3 separate regions of the Homo sapiens genome follow, and all the other regions are linked to region 1. The links are contacts of gene promoters, found by promoter capture Hi-C in human tissues and cell types (Jung and others, 2019). All regions are on one chromosome and are shown on one strand. Each heading gives the region's core, a stretch centred on a gene start or on the middle of the fragment in contact. The rest is flanking DNA. Distances are from core to core; before and after follow the strand shown. Region 1 holds the start of NPFFR2 (neuropeptide FF receptor 2). Region 2 overlaps NPFFR2 (neuropeptide FF receptor 2). Region 3 has its middle 56 kb from the start of NPFFR2.

Region 1 (3,044 bases), core at 524-3,023:
AAATATATAAGAGAGTGTGAGAATCCTGAAAGTACGGGAGAGGGTGGGAAGAAAAGCTCACCATGGTAGACATGGGCTTTAGCTAGGAGAAAGAAAGACAAGCTCCTCTATTAAAACCAGTTATAGCAAAGAATGATGAATGAATGCATGGAAGTTAAAGCAGGGTGTGTAGGTGTTTACAGGAGAAGTACTCAGGGAAAGGTGCATATCAGGTCCTTCCCTAGTTTTATATAATTTTCTCCTGCTTATGGATATAGTCTACTGTTTTTAGTGGTGGTGGAATGGTAGGGGTGGGGAGCAGGAGAATAGTTCTTGCAGTGTGTTGTTTCATGATACAGAAATGGAATCATAGTTTAAATGATTGTTACATAAGTTTCATATTTCTTTTAATTTGTAATAGAATCCTAGCAAGCTGGACATTACCTCACTGTCTCATCAAAAGCGTTGCTATTGCTTTCATTCTTTTTAATGACTTATTTTTCCAGTGGTATGAGGTACTGTGTAGAGCAATGAATCACAATTATTTTTGCACTTTGATTTGAGAATTTCAGGTTGAATACAAAATGCTTTTCTCTTCTTAGTTTTATTTTACCCAACTAACTTATTATTCTATCCTATGACTCCTGTGTTATCTCTTTAACGTCTTTTTCTTTTCTATGACTTTCTGTGCCTTGAGTATCCTGATAAACTTTAGAGAAGTGGGACCAGTATCCTTACCTTGAACTTGGTAAAGTCTTGGGAGAAATACGCCTCAATTTAGTCATTAAACACACACACCACACACACACACTTGTCAAAATCTGCAACTTTAATCCAAGACCAAGGAATCCTACTTTAAAAGGTCTGTCTCACCATAGGCTTTTTTTCTGTATTCCACGTGTACCAGTGATATAGGCAGAGAAATGTAGCAGATAAAGAAATGAATTTGGCTTCTGGAGCTTTTCTTTCATTTAAATACCACCTCTGTAATCTTAGACAAGTCACTAAACCTTGGTGCCTCTGTGTGAATTGGAAATAATTATATATCAACTCTTCACAAACCTAGAGTGCTATCGTGAGGATTAGGTCTAAAAGGCTCCTCACAGGTTTCTCATGCTTAAAGCACCTTTAATTATCCCTTTCTTAGTAATTGTATAAATCTCTAAGTTAATCCATTAAAGTCTAGTCATCATCTCTCTATTAGCAAGACCCAACTGGGCAGATAGTGTTGTTAGGATCATTGTGAGTCTCCCCAGGGTTCTTCCCCTTCCATTTCTGATTATGCTGTGAATATATTTCCAGAATTTCAGAGGGGTTTGCTTGCAAGCTAAAAGATCTTTGCAAAGGCTCAAAAAATACGGTCTGCTTCAGACAGAGAGAGGGTTTGCAATATGCGATGAATCTCTCAGTCCCATTAGAACCTTAAAGATGATGATAGCTCACATTTAATGTAATGATTAATGTGTACCAGGACCATTCCAGGCACTTTTGCATGTAGACAAATAATTCTCAGATTACTTACTGATTAATATCATCATCATCTCTATTTTACAAACGAGGAAACTGAGGCACAGAGAGGCTAAATCACTTGCCCAGGATCTGGAGCCAAGTAATGGTGATACTGATGCTTCCTTTTCTTTGCCGCGCTCGGATTCTGAGTTTCACAAGAATGTACCTGGGTGCCCCTTAGCGGGATATGAATAGCTTCTTCGGAACCCCAGCGGCCAGCTGGTGCCTCCTGGAAAGTGACGTCTCATCTGCACCGGACAAGGAGGCGGGGAGGGAGCGCAGAGCACTCAGCGTCCAGCAGCGCGGCGGGCCAGCCTGGAGCGGAAGCCTGGAGTGGAGCAGGCAGTCCGCGGGGGACAGACGTCGGCTGGGATTGAGCCGGCAGACTGCGAAAAGTAGCTGGAGCCGGAGCAGGGACAGAACCTGTTGCTGCAGACGGGCTTGGTGGATTCTGGTTCCTGCCGCCGACAGGGCTCGCCGGGAGAGGTAACAGCATGGGCCAGTTTGTCTGGGGGCCCCCGCTTGGGGGCGCGACCCCTCTCTAATGCCCAACGCTTGCCTTGATGACACATATTAGCGATTGTGGACCGACACCTTGGATTTTTCAAATCCCTTCCTAATTACACAGGCACCCGCTTGGTCACTGGCCCAACACTGGGGGGCTTCTCTGCCCTGGATGTCTGCACCACAGATGGCTGTGGCCCCAGGCTTGCAGAGCAGGGACCTGGTCAAGGGATGTGGGGCGCTTTCTTCACCTTAAAGTTCCCCCCAAGCCCTCTCCGGGGCTGTATTGTGTTGTAACTTTGTTGAATTTCCTTAGCGGGTCTGAAGCTAGCGAGTTTCTAAACTGTTTTTATCCGTGATGCTTCTAAGCAATGATCTTTGTGTATCTGAGGCTTCATCTTGTGCATTTCCACTTGCTAGAAAAGCTGAAATCAGGTTTCTGAGCTGCGTACAGGACACCAGAGTCCTTATTGAAGGCGTTTGGAGAGGTTTTATCCCCTTCTGGGAGTGAGATAGGGTTTCCAGACAATACCATTTTAGTTCTTCTGTCAAACCATCAGGCATTTTCCAACAGTGCCGCCCTAGGTCAAATTTAGGGTCTGGAGGAGAGGAAAATGATCTTCTTCAAGCTGTCGTTCTAGTTAAAGACAGAACTACTAACTAAAAACCAAAAATACATTTGTTCATCTCCCATTTCCCCTCAGCTATAGTGTAGATATTTGAAATATTTATTTCTTTTTAAAAAATCTTAATGATAACATGAATTATACAAAGATGCTGGTTTCCTTTTTTTAATCCAAATATTCAAAGTTGTTTTAAACATATGTCTAAATTTCTAATTCCATTCACATCCAAATAACTTTCAAGTGGGAACTACTAATGAGAGGAAGGATGGAAAAATCAATGGTTTGTAAACTGTGAAGGACATATTTTTGTTTCCATCTGGATTTCTAATTAAACCATAATAAATTGAGTAAAATTATCATAATAATGATGAATCTAAGTTATGGATGAATTTGCAAAATGGCTATAATGTGCTCAAAAATAGTGCC
Region 2 (3,329 bases), core at 324-2,823, 54 kb after region 1:
TTTTCATCTCAAAAGAGGCCCACTCTCAGCGTTTGTGCTTCAGTGCTTTCCTGAAAGCAGCAGGTCTCTCAACCTGGAATGAGGGACACTGAATGCCTTAAGGGTGTCTGGAGTCAGTAGATAAATGCCCTGGCCACAGGTCATGATTTCCACATATTTACTCAGAGAGCTCTTTTCGCCCACAGCACTAGGCAGCTGGAAAACTGGACTTTATTGAGTTTTCTTCTTTCACTTTCTCATTTACCCTGTTCACTCACTCTTGCTTCCTGTAATTGCCTCCCAAATATGGCATCCAAGTCCTTGTTTTAGACTCTGCATTAGGTGGAATCCAAAAATTACAGACAATCATGCTGTTCTTTATTCGAGAACTATTAGTTGAGAATAATGTGCTTAAAAAAAAAGTCATTAAGACATTTCATAAAATAATGGTAAATCTTCTAAGAGTAAAACTAGAAATGTATGGGATGAAAAGACAGATACCAACAAATGTTAATACTAGTTAGTACTATTTTCCACATTCTTCAGCCCATATTAGTTTTTTTGGTAGCTATTTCAACTGACATGAGGTGGCTCTCAGCTGAACATGGAGTTATTGTTTGCTCTCAGTTTCGTATCTTATATAATAGCAGTGTCAAAATCCTGTGAAATCTGAGCAATCTTCAGCTGTGAAGGACAAGGGAAGAAAGTCTTTTGAGACAAAGGGCTCGTAACTTGGATTCTTGTTTTTTATATGTATATTTTGCATTTCAAGCTTCAGCCACAAGCTTTTTTTTCCCCAGCATATATTTTATGTTTTTTCTCTTTCTCTTACATGCCTTAATCTACTTCTTCTTTTGTTCAACTAAATGTATGCCATGTTGAGATCCTCATAGCATAAAACCTTTCATTTCAGAGTTGTTTCTGCATAATTGCCTAGGCAAATGGTATTCTACCATTAAATTGTTTCACTTTTTATTGACATCATTACTGATTAAGGAGGACAACTAAATTATGTTAGGTTCAATTAAGTAGGCTGATGGGACAATCCAGATGTAAAGAAATGCTAGTTATGTAATTTTTAAAAAAGCCTCTGAACCCTCCTACACTGACTACATTTCCATCCCACTCTTCAGCACATGATTTTTTTACAGCAAACTAAAGTTTTTAAATGAAACTAATGGTTAAAAATTAAATTATCTTTTTGGTAAGTCCTAAAAGTACAAGTTTAGTGTATATACATATTGTCACAGCAAGCCAAAATCTAAGAAGAAACAATGGAGGGAAAACATGGATTTCTTTGTCTTATAAACTGGAAGAGAGCAGGTGCTTTGTCTGATTTGCTTGATACATACCAAGAAGATGCTCAATAATGATCACTCGTTATCAATGTGCCATTGGTTATCACATCACAAGGTTATTATGAGCATTCTTTATATTAAATAATGGATAGAAGATTACTAAATACCAAGCACATTGTAAGTGTAAAATAAATGTGTTTTCCTTGGTATGCCCTATTCTCATTTGTTGATTAATGCAGCAATCATTGCTTTATATTGAAGGTTGAAAATAAATTTAAATAAATAGTCTGTGAACTAGCGAAGTCCATAAAAAAAGGTTTAGATCCTTGTTGTTTTGCAGTGTGGTAATGGTTTCAGCTTTCTTAAGCTCTCCTAAGTAGGTAGCAGTCATCTTACGTAGATAGCAGTCTGATGGACCAGAACATGGATATCACTAATAACTCTGTATTTCTGTCTCACTGTAAGCAGGCTACGTTATTTTCAGCTATTTTTGCCACCTATAGTGCTCTATTTAGAACCTCTTAGAATGTAAGCTAGCAAACTGACAATTAAAAATTAGGTCTTAATTAAGTAAGGGTCTTGTGAAAATTTAGTTATTAAATATGTAATTTATATGTTTATTCTGATTTTCTTGATGATTATAAGGAAATAACTATATGTCTATTCACTTCAGTATTTTTAACTAGTTAACAGAGAAAAAAGTTGAAATTAATGATTTACATTAGTTAGTTCTGTTTAGTATCCAGAATACTTTAAAATCTCATTAACCATATTGTATGCTATCCTTCAATAATGGATCCCCTTAAATAAAAAATATTTTGGAACAGTTGATTGCTAATGCAGAATAAATAGTAAAACAATTGTTGGTAGAGATTGAGCTCCATATAAATGTAAGATGACACCATGTTTAATAAAGAGTTATGCATCCCATGGGAACACAAAAATATATTTCCTAGATTACTGAACTGTTGATAAACTATGATATGCACATTTAATAATAATAAAGTTAGTAAGTATTTTGTCAAGTCTGTAATATCTGCATAAACATTCTGACAGAGAAATTGGGAGAGAAAAAGAAAATAAAGCCTTTATTTTCACATTTAGCATTAGAAGAGTGGTAGACTCCACCAGAAATACCAACTTGGGTTGAAAGAGACCATTTTGCGCTAAGCTTATATTGATGATGTACGTATTTTGGTGTGAGGATTTTGCCTTGAAGGTACATGCCAGCTCGTAGGAGTTCGATTTAACATTCACCTCTAAGCACTGAAAAATCTGGGTTATGGTCAACGCAGCAGCTTGCTACAAATAAAATTAAGACTCACCTGAGATTCTATGAATTGCTTTACTAAAAGCCTGGTTGTTTAACATTGTTGCTAAAGTTCTGGGAAGAAAATCCAAACACAACATATAAAAATAAATTTCCATGGCTCCTACTGTTTCCTTTGGAAAGGCAGATAATACAATTCTTATTGCCTTTTATTTACAGATATTGTTACAGGAAAGATAGATTTGACTAAAAATGTCATCTAGGAAAATTTTAACCAAAATTAGAAATTTTGCTAGTGATCTGGGTTGCTAAGAATCTAAGCATTAATACATGATGGTCTTGTGTAGGTAATCTTCTTCAGTTGTGATGGATGAGAGCCCCTGTATAGGATGGGGAAGGAAAGAATTCAGAGAAATAAGCTAATATCTGAGTAATAAATTTAACAGAAATTTGAGAATGTCCCTAGATAAGGCTGAAGATAAAGGAGAACTTTGCTGCTTTTTAGAAAGGAGTGGTCAGGACTGATGGAAGAAGGGAGAAAATGGAAGGGACTGGAGAGTGTGAGAACGGTTCCCACAGGCTGAGATTAAGGAAATTAACTTTTCCCTTGAAGAAAACATTTTTTTCATGGTAGCAATGACAGAAGAACTTTGTGAAAAATGTTATCTAAAGTCCAATTTAAGGCTGTTTCATTTCTGGTTCTGCTGCATTTTTCTGGCATCATCCCCCCAAAAATAGCCATGCAAAAGTGTACCTTGAAAATTAAATGGGAGGTCAAGAAA
Region 3 (3,039 bases), core at 522-3,021, 56 kb before region 1:
TAAGCTGGAAAGTTCTAATGCCAAATAAAAACATATAATAATTATTATTTATGTAAATTCTCAAGGCCCTTTGGTTGCATATGTTTTATTTACATTTCTTTCACCTGTATTTTATAATAGTAAGGTTAACCCTAAGTAATACTGTGATAGAAATGTATCTTTATTCTCATCTTTCACGTTCTTTCCCCAGAATTCAAGTACATTACTTTTGCCATCTTATAAACCTGTCACTTAGTAAATCTCATTCTTTGGAGATAATACTTGGGTATAAGAGAAAAGAGTGAGTTCAATGTTTTATCACTTCTGCTCAAATAGTATTTGCTTTGAAACAGGCATGAGAAACATATCCTAAGATATAACCCCAGTGGGAGCCTGAAACCACAGACAGTACTGAACCCAATTGCTGTTAATCGATACATGTTTCTGTTCATGTCTTCCACCCACAAATATAATGCCTTTTCCTTAAGCACTCATCATGCACTCTGGCCATAACTTCTGCAGTTTGAAGTGTGACAGCAAAACTTGCATACAATTTTTTTTCCTTTTTCACAATTTTGTGGATAGAAGATTTGTTCTGACAGATCTTAGCAACCCCAGCATATTACTTATTAAATTGAGAACTTTCACCTTAACACTTTAAGGAAGGACTTTAAGGGTTCTCTTTGGCGTATCTGAATTGCCAGCATCACTATTTTTTCTGCTTTGTGGCCATTATTAAGTCAAATAAAGGTTACTTGAGCACAAGCACTGCGGTACCTTGAAAGCTGATCTGATAATAGAGCCAGCGAGTAAGTGGCTAAGAGGCAGAGAGCATTGACAGAGTGGAGATGCTGGTCAAAGGGATGATTCACGTCCCTGGAATGGAACAGAATGGTGTGAGATTTCATCACACTACTCAGAATAGCATGTAATTTAAAATTTATCTTCTTTCTTGGATAGAAATAAGCCACAAATAATAAACTAAATAACAAAAAAAGGAAAAAAAAGCCTATGAATTGTTTATTTCTGGAATTTTTCATTTAATATTTTTAGACTAGGGTTGACCATGGCTAACTGAAACCTTGGAGAGAAAAACCATGGATAAGGGGGAAGTATTGTATTAGTTTCAAGAATCTAAAAGAAAGGAAGGGGAAGCAAAAAGTTAATATTTATGATATTACTTGTTCTGGAATGACCAATGAAAAAAGGTAAAATCAACTGGCAGATTGGTTGCTTAGTGGTCCTTCCAGGGTAGAAGATTTCTAGAATGCATTAACATGTGGTACCAAACTTTTGATACTTGTGCACATTACCATGTTTCCACCACTAGGCTCTCCCCCACAACTCTTTGTCTCCAATCTTTCCGGCTTTTCCTTCCAGGTTTCTGACCAGCTGGCCAGGACTCTTGTCACTGTCCAGGAATCCATTTACATTTTCACCTCTGGATACTTTTCTTTCCACACAAAGTGGGTACCAGGTGCACCCCTAACAGATCCTCATCATATGACAAAATGTCCTTGACAGCTATTAAATGAATTCACGCAGGCCTCACTTTAGAATGTAGCAAACATTAAAAAAAATTATTGAATGAAATAATGAATACATGAATGATTGGGCCCATAAGAATAAGAAAATTTCAACTAATTTTGAATTAACTCTTAACAAATATAGCCAGATTTCAGGAGTAAAATGAGCTTTTAGAAGATACAGATTTAATATTTCCTGGATACTATTATTATACTTTTCCATAATAATACTTACTAAATGATGGGAAAATACACAATTTGGAAAATTTAAGTATTCATTAGCTTTATTTCTTTCATCTAGACTTTTACCTGAATTTACAAGATACACATAAATTTCCCAAATTCATTTGTTTTCCATCACAATGTTACTCGGCTCAAGTGTACTTTCATGCTTTGGTTTACTTTCCTAGAATTCTCTCTTTTCTAGTTATATTCATTAAAGATTGAGGATACTCTTCGTTAATATAACCCCTGCCATGAAGCTCTGTCCACTAAAAAACCCAATGAGTTTCACTTCTATTTGTATTCTTAGAGCATTTTACCATTTAACTGTGTGTTATCTTGAAATTTATTTTTTACATAATTTAGAAGGCTTTGTCCATCCCAAGCTGTAAGCTCTTCGAAAGCAGGAATTATGATTTCTTCTCATTATATATACTTCCTGAGTCTGGAAAAGTGCCCGGGAGAGTAAATGCTCAATAAACACTCATCACAAAACAAACACTCATTTTCTGTATGTTTCTCTTTTCTGGAATAATTTTTTTACCTGAATATCTTAGAAATTAAAGATGCTACTTCTGTTGCTGTAATATAAGCCCATTTATCACTGTAGAAGATGAAAATAATTATTTTCCTTTTATAAAGCCATATGAATTGGTAATGTGTGGTAATGTCCTTTCAGAATAACAATTTCAGCAGAGTATTATTAAATTTAATTAATGTAAAAATAATTCTCTGGTCTCAGAAGCATACTTGCAATAATCATCATTCTAAGCTTTAAAAATTCTACTTTATTCTAAGATGACAATGTTAATATGTTTTATTACAATCTAGTGATTCCCTTGGGCCCAGAACATGTTGAATATTTTATAACACTTTAGCTTTCTAACCTGTAAACAAATAAAATATGTTCAATTCCCTAGGGAGACATTTTATTTCTGAAGTTTATGAACCTCTCTCTGTCTTTTCCTCAGGGCTGACAGCATTTAAGTGGCTGGTCTTATATAATTTATAATGTGGAAGAATTTACTGGATAAGGGGATTCAAAGTGATTATTTGTTTGTTCAAGAAATATATATATTTTAAGTTGCAACACTCTGCTGGGTGTTGAAAGTAAATACATGGACCTTGCTTTCTGGGAGCTTACAATTTATAAGGGATGAGATATGTCTAAATAAGATCAAAACTGGTGATTTAAATCACATGTGACTGATGTAAAAAATTTCATAGTCATACAGAAGCAGGAAGATTATTTCTAGTTTTATTGATCACTGAAGATTTCATGGAAGTGGTGGCTGCTCATTGGGAATTGAGT

Evidence for each region. The method cuts DNA at HindIII sites, captures the fragments that hold promoters and counts their contacts. A contact is called where the count stands out against the background at its distance.
Region 2: a fragment that was not itself captured here is called in contact with the fragment with the promoter of NPFFR2 in region 1 in 2 of the 25 tissues and cell types used here (heart right ventricle and small bowel).
Region 3: a fragment that was not itself captured here is called in contact with the fragment with the promoter of NPFFR2 in region 1 in 2 of the 25 tissues and cell types used here (mesendoderm cells and thymus).

Annotation. Positions count from the first base shown.
Region 1 is chr4:72,030,227-72,033,270 of GRCh38, forward strand. It overlaps NPFFR2 (neuropeptide FF receptor 2), which reads left to right and starts at 1,774. Exons shown (of 4, transcript NM_004885.3): 1 at 1,774-1,974. RefSeq lists an enhancer at 1,383-1,985. The HindIII fragment of the contact is 5,305 bases long and covers 1-3,044 here.
Region 2 is chr4:72,084,664-72,087,992 of GRCh38, forward strand. All of the region lies in intron 1 of NPFFR2 (neuropeptide FF receptor 2), which reads left to right. Among named protein-coding and RNA genes, the nearest start is that of NPFFR2, 54 kb to the left of the region's middle. The HindIII fragment of the contact is 5,357 bases long and covers 1-3,329 here.
Region 3 is chr4:71,974,070-71,977,108 of GRCh38, forward strand. No RefSeq gene overlaps it. Among named protein-coding and RNA genes, the nearest start is that of NPFFR2, 56 kb to the right of the region's middle. The HindIII fragment of the contact is 5,388 bases long and covers 1-3,039 here.